Regions from separate parts of the Homo sapiens genome. Here region 2 is linked to region 1. Evidence: promoter capture Hi-C in human tissues and cell types (Jung and others, 2019). All regions are on one chromosome and are shown on one strand. The core of a region is centred on a gene start or on the middle of the fragment in contact, and the rest is flanking DNA. Distances in the headings are between cores, read along the strand shown.

Evidence for each region. The method cuts DNA at HindIII sites, captures the fragments that hold promoters and counts their contacts. A contact is called where the count stands out against the background at its distance.
Region 2: a fragment that was not itself captured here is called in contact with the fragment with the promoter of SERPINH1 in region 1 in 1 of the 25 tissues and cell types used here (IMR-90 fibroblasts).

What each region holds. Positions count from the first base shown.
Region 1 is chr11:75,557,764-75,563,502 of GRCh38, reverse strand. It overlaps SERPINH1 (serpin family H member 1), which reads right to left and starts at 1,250. Exons shown (of 5, transcript NM_001235.5): 1 at 1,184-1,250. RefSeq lists enhancers at 1-489, 490-1,030, 1,031-1,570, 4,152-4,693, silencers at 1,195-1,244, 1,255-1,514 and cis regulatory regions at 3,706-4,556, 5,029-5,259. The HindIII fragment of the contact is 16,066 bases long and covers 1-2,855 here.
Region 2 is chr11:75,769,581-75,774,865 of GRCh38, reverse strand. The region is part of intron 1 of DGAT2 (diacylglycerol O-acyltransferase 2); the gene reads right to left. Among named protein-coding and RNA genes, the nearest start is that of DGAT2, 3.4 kb to the right of the region's middle. RefSeq lists enhancers at 1,011-1,240, 1,381-1,530. The HindIII fragment of the contact is 5,867 bases long and covers 1,071-5,285 here.

The DNA.
Region 1 (5,739 bases), core at 1-2,500:
GCACAGAGCCCCTCCTGAGGGCTGCATGCGGTGTCCTGTTACACAGCCAGTACAAAAAAAAAATCTCTGCTGGGAGTCCCGGTGACAGAGGAGACAAAGGAGAGGACGGGAAGGGGGGATGGGTACATGAACCATCTGAAGACAGGAGGGTGTGGCCCCGGCCGGAATTCCGGAGAACCAAAGCCCCCTCATTTTCCTCAGGCCTCCATCCGGGCCGTACAGCCCAGAGGGACCAGCGGGAAACAAGGAAGAGGAGGGGCTGAGACTCTGGGCCAGTCTGGAAGTGCATTCATTCTCCTTCCTGCTCTTCAGCCACCTCAGGAATGTCTCTAAGCTGGGGGGCAGGGAACCCCAGCCTCTGGAAGTTAGACCCTGCAGTTTAAACCCTGCAGTTACTCCAAGAACCCTGTGGCAGTGGACAGAAGGAAAGACTCAAATCCTTCTAGTCAGCCCCTTAATCCCCAGAGCAGAGCAGACCCTGCTGACCCCCACTCTCTTTTTTCGGAGTGGTAGGGAGCCTCGCTGGCCAAGTCTTTCCTTTGGCTGCCATCATCTAGGCTGCAAGCTGCTGATCAGAAATTGAGCCACTGTCGCCCACTTCTACCAGAGCACACGGACCCCAGGAGTCGAGACGATTTCACCTCCTTTCCCACCACCGGAAGCTCAAATTCCCTCAGCAAGCCTGTGAGGAGGCTGGGCCACCAATCACCGCTGCCCCTGAGCCTCAACCCCAGAACGGAAGTGACCTGGAACTGCGAGGCCGGCCTATCCTCCCTACCCTTGCGGGAAGAGGCACCAGACCCATCTCCTTCCTCCTCTGTTTCTTTCCGCAGAGGCTCTGCTCTCTGCCCCCAGCCCCCTTTACACAGCACCTAGTCTCGTATCTGCCACCACCACCTTTTAGGGGTCCCTGCACTTTTTCCCAGTCCTCCGAGTGCACGGACTCCCAACCCGGCTCCGATCTCCGCCCTAGCCCTCAGCTGGCACCATCACTGGCTAGCCCTGGGCTCTCGATTCCAAACCCTCCAGCGGCCCCCAAAGTGCCGAGGACTCCAATTTGTAGGCTCTGGCTCGGCACCCAACGCTTCGCAGGGTCCCCTCGCCCCTCTTACTCCCTCGCGCACCCCCAGATTGCTCGGCGCTCCCCCGGGCCGCACGCACGCAGGCGTCTCCCGCCCCTCACCTGGGTCGGGCTGGGCTAGCGCCGGGACGTGACTCTCGCTCTCGAGCCGCGACACGATTCTACTCTTAGCCCGCTCCCCTGCTCCCGGGATCTATATATGGCAGTCCCCACCCCCTCCTGCCCGTCCCGAGAAACTTCTGGAAAGTTGGAAACGCTTCCGGAGGGCGCCCCAGCTCCGCCAAAAAAAGCCAAAGACCTCCCTCAAAACCTCCCCGGCCCCCGGCCCCTCCCTCTGCCGGCGCCTCCCGGCCCCTGGGTCCTACTGCCTCCCTCGGCGGCCCGGGCTGCGGGGCGCCGGGAGTCCCCACGGGGATCAGCGTGTCCTTCAGAGTGCGAGCTTCCTCCCACCCCCAGGCTCTCTGCATAAGCTAGCCCACTCCGAATCGCACGTCCTTTCAGGCGCCCCTTTCCCCGCAGGGGCTCTGCCCCAAGCAGAGCCATCTCCCCTTCTCCCCGCTCTCCCCCATTTTCAAGCTGAAACAATTGAGTCCTGTGCACCCCCTCCCTCTCAGGGGAGACGTTCAGGCTTCTGAAGGCAGTGCCCTTCTCCATACTTGTACATTCAAAAAACCTCAACCTCAGCGATGGCCAGAGGGAGAGGGAGCAGACCAGACCCGGTACCTGCCCGGCACCCGGAAAGTTCAAGTCGTGGAGTAATAGAGGCAGAGATGCCTGGGGAACTTCAGGTGGTCTGGCTGGGCTTGGAGGAGTGCACAGGAAGGAAAACCTGGCTCTCCACTGAGCAAGGTGCTGTGTGACCCTAAGCAGGTTACTTTCCCTTTCTGGGCCTCTGTTCCCTTGGCTGTGAAATGTGGTTCTAAGGCATCCCTTGCTTTTTTTCCCCCCTCTCTCCCTTCCTCAATCCTTGTCACCCCTGGCCCCCTCCCTATTGCATCCCCTCCCTCTTTGGGTCCCCTCCCACAGGCCTCAGGTCTCACTGTCAATTCCTACCCCACCCTCGCAAACTGATAGCTCCTTGACCTCCAAGTTAAGCTAGGGTATTCATTACTGTTCTAGGTGCTGAGGACACAGCTGAGAGCTGAACAAAGTCCTTGCCCTGTGCGATGTCCATCTGTGGGGTATGTACCTGTTAGTAGGGAATTCAGTGATTCAGTGAGGCAGATTATTTAGGAAACCCTAAATAATCTGGGCGACAGTGGCTCAATTTCTGATCAGCCGAGGCTCCCTACCCTCCGAAAAGTCCTCTTTAGTAGTTTAATGATAGCTATTGGATGGACGCAGTATGGAGAGGAAGGGACAGGGTAGGGACTCTTCATTCATTCAGTCATGAATGAATGCATTGAGTATCTTCTTTCTTCTAGGTGCTTGCCTGGATCCTGGGGAGCAAAAAAATCCCAGTACCCAGCAAATGAGTCAATCACCTGGGTCCCTGCCCTCTGTTAGTGGTTGTGGGGAAGCCTGGTGGTGGTGACAAACCTCTCTGTCTGGGTAGGCTTCTGCAGCTCAGAGTCTTTTGAGTACAAGGACTGTGGGAAATCTCAGATCCCAAAAGCTTCAGACTCTGTGATTCAGGGTCAAGGAATCAGAGATTACTTCCACTCAAAGCCCCCAAGGAGTCTTTGAATCCAGCTAAGGAATCTTAACATGTTAAAATCTCAGAGTCGAAGGATTCTGGAATAAATGTATTAAAGACTCTGAGCTGCAAGGCATCTCAGAGGTCAGGGGTTCCTGTCTGCAGCCCCAGGCAGAAGCCCTCTTCTCAGTATCCCAAAAAGGCAAGCACCGAGGCACCTCTAAGAAGAGAGAGCTTACCTCCTTCAGAGGCAGCCCCGCATTCTTTTTTAGGACAGGTCTGATTATTAACAAAAGCTTCCAGCCTTGGCATGGTGTCCATCTCTTTGGGGTGGCTGTCGTGGTTCTCATGTGCTTCCTCCTGCCTCAACTGTATATTGCTTTTAAAGATAAATTCTAGGCTGGGCGCGGTGGCTCATGCCTGTAATCCCAGCACTTTGGAAGGCCGAGGTGGGTGGATCACCTGAGGTCAGCAGTTCAAGATCAGCGTGGCCAAAATGGTGAAACCCCATCTCTAATAAAAATATGAAAATTAGCCAGCTGTGGTGTCATGTGCCTGTAATCCCAGCTACTCAGGAGGCTGAGGCGGGAGAATCTCTTGAACCTGGGAGGTGGAGTTTGCAGTGAGCCGAGATCATGCCACTGCACTCCAGCATGGGTGACAGAGCGAGACTCCATCTCAAAAAAAAAAGATAAATTCTTGTTTATCCAAGGAGACCTCCCGGGTCCCAGGCCAGACCCCACTCTCTACTCCCACCCCCACATTGGCCCTCAGGCTTCCTTGTGACTTGGTCAGTGAGCTGAGGGCAGGGCAGAGCAGAAACAAAGAGTGCCCATCAATGCTGGCAAAACAGAGAGGGTCGCCTGGGTTTTCAGCAGGTTCAGATGTCACAATCCCAGTGAGACTCCCTTCCTCTACTCTCTTACATCTCTTAGCTCTTTTAGGCTTCACCAACACCTGAGGGGGAGACTGAGAGTGCTGTGACTGTCCCATTTTGAGGGATAAACCAAAGCTCATGCTGTTAAATAGACCCAGTATCATGAGTGGTCACTGAAGAGAGGACCTGCCCTTACAGACAGCAAAGCTGAGGCCTAAGGAGGGCTGGGTCTGAAGGCCCAACCCCCATCCGACCCCCACTAATCTCACACCGGGTCAGAAGCCTCCTCTGTGACCTATCCCACTGCTGCATTATCTCTGTTATCACCCTGTATTGTCAGTGAACCATCACTGGAGACTTTGGAAGGGCAGGGCCTTTTCCTTGTCACTGTGAGTCCCCAGCTCCAGCAAGGGGACAGTATGGAAGAGGCACTGGGTAAGCATGGCTGGCCAGGGGATGAGAAGTGGCTGCCTGAGGCTGCTGTGCCCCTAGCACAGCCTCCCTGAAGAAGGGAAAGCAACGGCTCCTTTAAATTTCCAAGATCAGCAAAAAAAAAAAAAGTCAAGAGCCTTTGCCACAATATTCTTAGCTCTGAGCCCAGCCCAGACTGACTGTGGCCCTTCCCCCACATTCCAGGCAGAGCTTTCCGGAAAAAGCACTCTTTTAGGGGGTGGGGGAGAAGAGTCTGATAAGCAGAGAAACTCTCAAGCATTTTGTCTCTGGACTCCTCCAGTGCCTCGCTTCACTGAAGGAAGTGGTCCTGGTGCCTGGCACGTGGAGGCTGGCTGGAAATCCTCTAGATCCCTAGGTCCCGAGAGGTGTGGACAGCAGAAAGTAGAAAACCATCAAGTCCAACTGCATCCACACTATACAGAGAGGACAACGGAAGCCCAGAGAGGGCAGGAATTTACCCAAGGTCACACAGCATATCAGAGGTGGGGCTGGGCTGGAGCCTAAGCCCTGGACTCCCAGCCCTCTTTCTCCCACAGTACCCTCTAATGACCCAGGGGGGTATGTAGGCCCAGTTCTGCCAGGTGCTGTGGAAACAGCTTTCTTTGGCCCCAGTGGCTAGATTCACTCAGTCTTCACCCCATAGAATCCTAGGACAAAAACTTGCATGTCATTTAAGTGTGCAACACATTCACATTTATTATCATATTTATTCCTTTCAGGTAAGGAAGAATGTTCCAATTTTCAGCATGAAGAAACTGAGGATCAGGGAGACTAAGCAACAGGGTTAAGGGCACACAACAAGCCAGAGTCAGAGCTGGGTTTTGAATCAGGTCTGTTTATGCCATATCCACGGGAAGGCAGGGAGTGGACGAGAAGGAAGTGACATTTATGGGCCATTTTGCCGCTGCCAGGCCTGTGCTGGGCACCGTCATTAGTGTCTCACTTTTAATTATAGAACGTTAATCGGAAGGAAGTTTAATCCCCTTCTTTTTACATTGGTATAAAATTGGAGCCCAGAAAGCTCCGACAGCCAGTCCAGGGTCGGCCCCCTCCCTCAGGGAGCCAGGGCTGCTATAGGCAGCTCTTCTTTGAGATGCTGTCCAGGAGCCAAGAATGTGCTCTCAGCCCAAGGCATGAGTCAGGAAAACACGATTTCTGTAATCTTGGATTCTCTCTCTTGGAGCGTGGGGCCTTCCATCCAAAAAGGGCTGTCCTGCGTGCTGCCACGTTGGAGGGTGGGCAGCCGGTCCATGTGGGGGTGGGTGGGCACATGATTCCTCCCCTCCTCCTCCCAGAGCAGGCCCGCCCCTACCCGTCTGCAATCCTGGTGCTGAGCGAAGCCACATAGGAACTCCAGCGCCTTCACCCACATGCCTGGCACAATACCCAGGAGACACAAGCCCACTGACTCGCTATATACACAGGCGTATGTGCACCCACATACATGGTGCACACACGGCACTTGAGCAGCCCCTTCACACAATCCATGTACACACATGTCTGTGTAACTCCAGTAACCCAAATGCACCCCACCCCCCTACACAAGTTTTTGTTGGGTATTGACATATACACAGGATCAGGTTCCCCGCCCCCTCTCCCAGCCTCCCTCTCTCAGGCTTCCTCTGGCAACCCATGGAACCAGCTCCAGTGCCTGCAAGACCAGGCCTGAAGGGCTGGTGGGATGGAGGATGT
Region 2 (5,285 bases), core at 2,755-5,254, 210 kb before region 1:
AAAAAGTAGCTACTGCAGTGGAAGGGGCTGCCATGGCAACACTACTAGCTTGCGAGTAGGTCACCAAGGAATCTCCAAAATACGTCCCCATCACAATATATGGGCAAGCATGGGGAGACAGGTTCTTCTGGGGCACTTACCTTGGCCCCAAGTGGATGAGTGCACCATTTTCACAAGGAGAAGCTGAGGACAAGAATGAGGAGGTGGCTGACCTCAAGAGTCCCACAGCAGTTAGGGACAAGAATGGAATCGCATTTCTCCAGCAGGGATGTAAGGAAGCCAAGGGGGTCATCTCAACCAGTCCTCCTCACTGTGCAGATGAGAAGGCTGAGGCCCTAAGAGGCAGTGTTATACCCAAGGTCACATGGGAAGCAGAGGCAGGGCTTAGAATGGCTAATTCTGCTCTAATAAGAAAAGGAGTTTGTGTTTCCCATTTCTATTGATTTACCCAAAAGGTTCACAGGGTGTAGCCTGTCTGCATCTGCACCATAATCTGCACAGGTTCTTATGACACTTTTGCTCATTTCATAGATGAGGAGACTGAGGGTAAGGAAGGGTAGTGGCTTGCTGAGGCTGCGGAGCAGTTCGGTGGCCAAGCAGGAGCTGGACAGAGCCCAGGCCTGACTCCTACCCCTGGGCCCTGCCCATGAGGCCCTCAAATCAGCCAGCAGCTCCATACCAGGAGGCCCTCAAAGTGCTGGAGGCCAATAAACTAACTGCACCAGGCTCCTTTCCCATGAGCTCTCAAGTCTTCCTCCTGCTGCAGACACAGGTGAGCCACCACAGGCCTGGATCCAGCATCCTCTCTGTCTCTCTTGTCTCTGGCTCTCAGTACACCAAGACCTCAGCCTCAGTTGGTCACTCAGAGGCCCTGCAGTCAGTCTGCCTCTCCCATCCAAATCTCATGCCTCTATTTATGCTATTTCCTGTACCTGAATGTTCTTGCCTGTCTTGCTGATGTCTATTCATCTTTCCAGATCCGGACTGAATGTCACCTCTTCCAGGAAGACTTCCCTGACCTCAGGGTGATCAAGCTCCCCGGTCTCACCTCTTGGCAGTCTTTCCTGTCATTGCTCAGATCACTCTGCACAGTCATCTTGTGTACATCCCCCTGGTCTCACTTCCTCAAACGCAGGGACTGCAGCTGACACACAGAAGGTGCTCAATCAATAAAATGAAGGGTCCACACCCCAAGTCCCTTCCTCAGTGAAGCCTTCCTGGATGCCCTAGAGCAGGGTCTGCCACTCTCTACAGTGTTGGGGGCCTGCTGAATGTGTAACACAGGACAAATGACAAGGACTAACATGAATGTCACAAGTTCACAAACACTCACACTCAGGTTAACTCAAACCCTCCATCCTTGAGAATCTGAGAATTCTGACCCTATTTTCCAGATAGAAGGAGTGAGATCCCCAGAGAGGAAGTGAAGCCCCCAGCCACATCCCAGAAAAATGTCAGGCCTGGAACCCCAGCTCTCGGGCTTCTAATAAGCCCTGGGAAGCAGTAAGGGTGACCATTGAGACTGGCTCTGCCCACTTGCCACTCAGCCTTGGAGCCAGCTCCTTGCCAGACTGTGGGTACCTCCAGGGCAGGGAACAGCTACAACCCCAGCACCCAGTCCCTAGCACAGGTGGTTACAGGGACAGAGGAGGCCCAAGGAAGGCTCGAGGAATCACACTGAAGCTAAAAGCAGGGCTTCCTCCAAGAGGAATGGGGCAGTCCCACTAATGATTCCTTCGTTTAACAGATACTTACTAAGTACCTATTACCAGTGCCAGGCACTGTGCTAGATGTCACAGCACTGAGAAAGACAGACAAGGTTCCTGTTTCCAAGGGACTCATATTCTTTTTCTGTTTGTTCTTTTTGTTTTGTTTTGAGATGGAGTCTCGCTCTGTTACCCACGCTGGAGTGCAGTAGCACAACCTTGGCTCACTGTAACCTCCTCCTCCTGGGTTCAAGCGACTATCCTGCCTCAGCCTCCCAAGTAGCTGGGATTACAGGCACACACCACCACACCTGGCTAAATTTTTTTATTTTTAGTAGAGACAGGGGTTTTACCATGTCAGCCAGGCTGGTCTCGAACTCCTGACCTCAAGTGATCCTCCCACTTTGGCCTCCCAAAGTGCTGGGATTACAGGCGAAAGCCATGGCACGCGGCCGGCAAAGGGACTGATATTCTTACTGGGGAGACAATTGCTTAAACAGATAAGCACGCATGAAAATTTAGGTAGTGATAAAGGCTATAAAAATAAAAGAAGATGTGGTGATTGGAAGTGGCTCTCTAGATTGGAAGTGGCTCTCTAGATAGGGTGGCCAGGGAAGACCTCTGAGAGGAGATTGACTGTTGTAAAGCCAGCCATGCGAAGACCTGGGCAGACAGGCAGCATATGCAAAGGCGCTGAGGTAAGACTGAATTGGGAGTAATGCTGCAGGAACAGGAAGACCACCATGCGTCTGCAGCATGGTGGGTGACATACTAGGAGAGGAAGTCGTGATGGCAGTGGAGGCTGTTCACCTGGGGCTTACTTCATAGGCCAGGAGGAAGAGTTTGGAAAGTCTGAAGTGTGACTGAGTGTGGGTAGGGGGCAACTGGCATTCACCTGGCAGCCAAAGCTCTGGGGGATCTTAGTGCTCTAATCCACTAGGGCAGGCTTGGGGAGCTTCCTCAAAAAGTTTGAGAAGGGATGAGCTGCCACCCGCACCATGGAGACAACCTTCACTCATTCAGCAAACCACTGAGCACCTACAATGCACAGAGCCCTGCACTCAGCCCTTCACGGCCTTGCAACCCTTCTCTTGGCTTAAGGAGTCAGGCCACAGACTGGGAGATGGATCTGAGTTCTAGCCTGGCTTTGATAACCCTGGGAAAGTCCCTTCTTTCTGGAGACTCCAGTGATCCCATCTGTAACATGAGGGTTGGGCCCGATCCAGCACTAATTTTTACAACTCAAGTACTTGCTGTTGAATTTGAGGGCAGGAGGGTGGAGGTGGGGCAGGATTTCAACACTGACCATTGAGTCACTGAGCCTGTTAATACAACATTACTCTTGGCCCTCCTTTCTCAGCCTAGATGAGCCCTTGGTGACGCAGCCCCAAAGTGGCCTCTATTCAGCTGGGGAAGTGATGTAGGTGAGGGGGGAAGCCACACGGAATTGGAGAGGGAAGCATGAGAGTAATGTTCTCATTCTGACTTAGGACTAGGTTAGGTGACTGTCAACCCTCAGTTCCCAGTTACCCCCAACAATCTAGCCACTTAGTTTCAAGCAGATCCACAGTGATGTGGAACTCCATCCTCACCCACCCCAGCCTGTTGCAGTCCTCAACAGCTGTCAGAAAGGACTCCTCTGCTACATCAAAACTTGCACCCATCATCCCACTCCTATTCCTGGCCTCACTCTTTGGAGCCGCACACAACAAATCAGCTCAAAATTTTACTGGGACCACCAACATCTCATGCTAGGTCCTGTGCTGAACCCTGAGGACACAGGCAGGTGTCAGAGGGCTCTTCTGAACGAAGAGCCCCCAATCCAAAGGCAAGGATAAAGAATAGGATATATATCCCTCCTGTCCTGATGAACTCTGCAAACTCCACGTCTGGCACAGGACAGCCCTCCAAGGATTAGGAAATATCAACACAGACTCCCGCTTCCCCCAGCATGCACCCACCTACCCATACTCCCACAGCTGGCCTTTTTTTTTGGCCAAGAAACCAGATGCCAAGGTATCTATTTCAATCTCTCACCCGTCACAGGACTTCCCTTCACAGAATCCATGGTCTCTACTTGAATACTGTCACTGACGGGCTGTTCACCAGCTCACAACAGTGGGACCTTACCCACAGAGGCAAACTAGGCCACTGGGGAGTATCTTCAAGGACCAAGGATCTAGAAGGCAGGTCTAATGGAGATGCCCAGATAACAAAATGTGCTTCAGTGCCCTCCCCTACTCCACCCAATCTTTCACCAAAGTAGATCCCAGAAAGCTGAACTGACTGGTTTGCATTTCATACCAGCCCTTCCTACATTCCATGATGTAAATCCTTGCACCCAGTTTAAAAAAAAAAAAGTTTTCAAGATCTGATAACAACATGGGGAAATGTTCCTGACATGATATTAAGTGGCTTGGTTAAAACCATTCGCTAGAGTACAAGTTCTCCTAAGGAACAAACTCTAAGTCAAAAACATGACAGCCAGGGTCACTGCCTCCTGGAAGACACAGCTCCCAGCCTGTGGATGGCAGAGCCGACGGAATGGGGTCTCCAGGAAGCACTACCACAGAGAACATCCCTATCCCACTGCCCAGTGCAAAAACATTTTTAACAGCATGAACAAGGGCAAGTCCATTCATCCATTGATGTCCCTAAGGACATCAAAGGACACAGGGAACAGAAAAGGACTCAAGTGAGAGAAGGGGCTGTCAGAGGCTACTGGCTGGATACATGGGGCAGCTCAAGCTGCTCGCCCCCGAGACAGGGCAGCAGCTGGGTTCCTCTTCAAGGGCTACGAGCAGCACCCACACCAAGAGGGGCAGATAACCACAGCGATAATCACACAAGAAGCAATGCCAATGCCTAGGTCACAGTTAAAGTGTGGTACAGCTGCAGGGTGGGTTATTGCAACCACTAGGACATTGTAAGTGATTCTGATTAACAGAAGGGAAACCTCGATGTTACATTAAGGGGGAGAAAACAAGATTCATAACTATATCTACAGCATGTCCTCAATTGTATCTATGCAATGTGTATAAAGAAAATGATCAAGAGATATACTAAAATGCTAATAGGAAGGTATCTTTGGATAGTCGATTTACCAGAAATTTTTTTCATTTGTCTATATTTTCAAAAATTCCATAATTAGCAAGCTTTATTTTTGTAACAAAGGTGGGCGGTGTAGGCGACCGTTAGTTACTAAAGAAAAATCCATGTCAGAGAGGCTCAGCAAACAGAATACAGACTTAGAAAGAGGGAGAGGGGCTTCATGCAAGACACACACGCAGACCAGGACAGCTGTGATGACTTCCCAGGGTCTACCGGATTTGTACTTGAATCCAGGGGTCAAGGCATCAGCTAAGGAAAACTTAGGCATGCTTCCTCCCACTTCAGTTTCTCCAGCTCTAGGTAAGGGAGGTGGGGGTTGGAAGAGTTGCTATTCCTCGCTTGGGAAAAGCTGCGGGGGGTGCGGGGCGGGGGTTGATTTCAACTCTGCGCGATTCACTGAGGACCTCAGTTCTACCTTGGAGGACATGCAGGGTCCTCTCCGCTGCCTTCTAAGCATGCCAGGCTCAA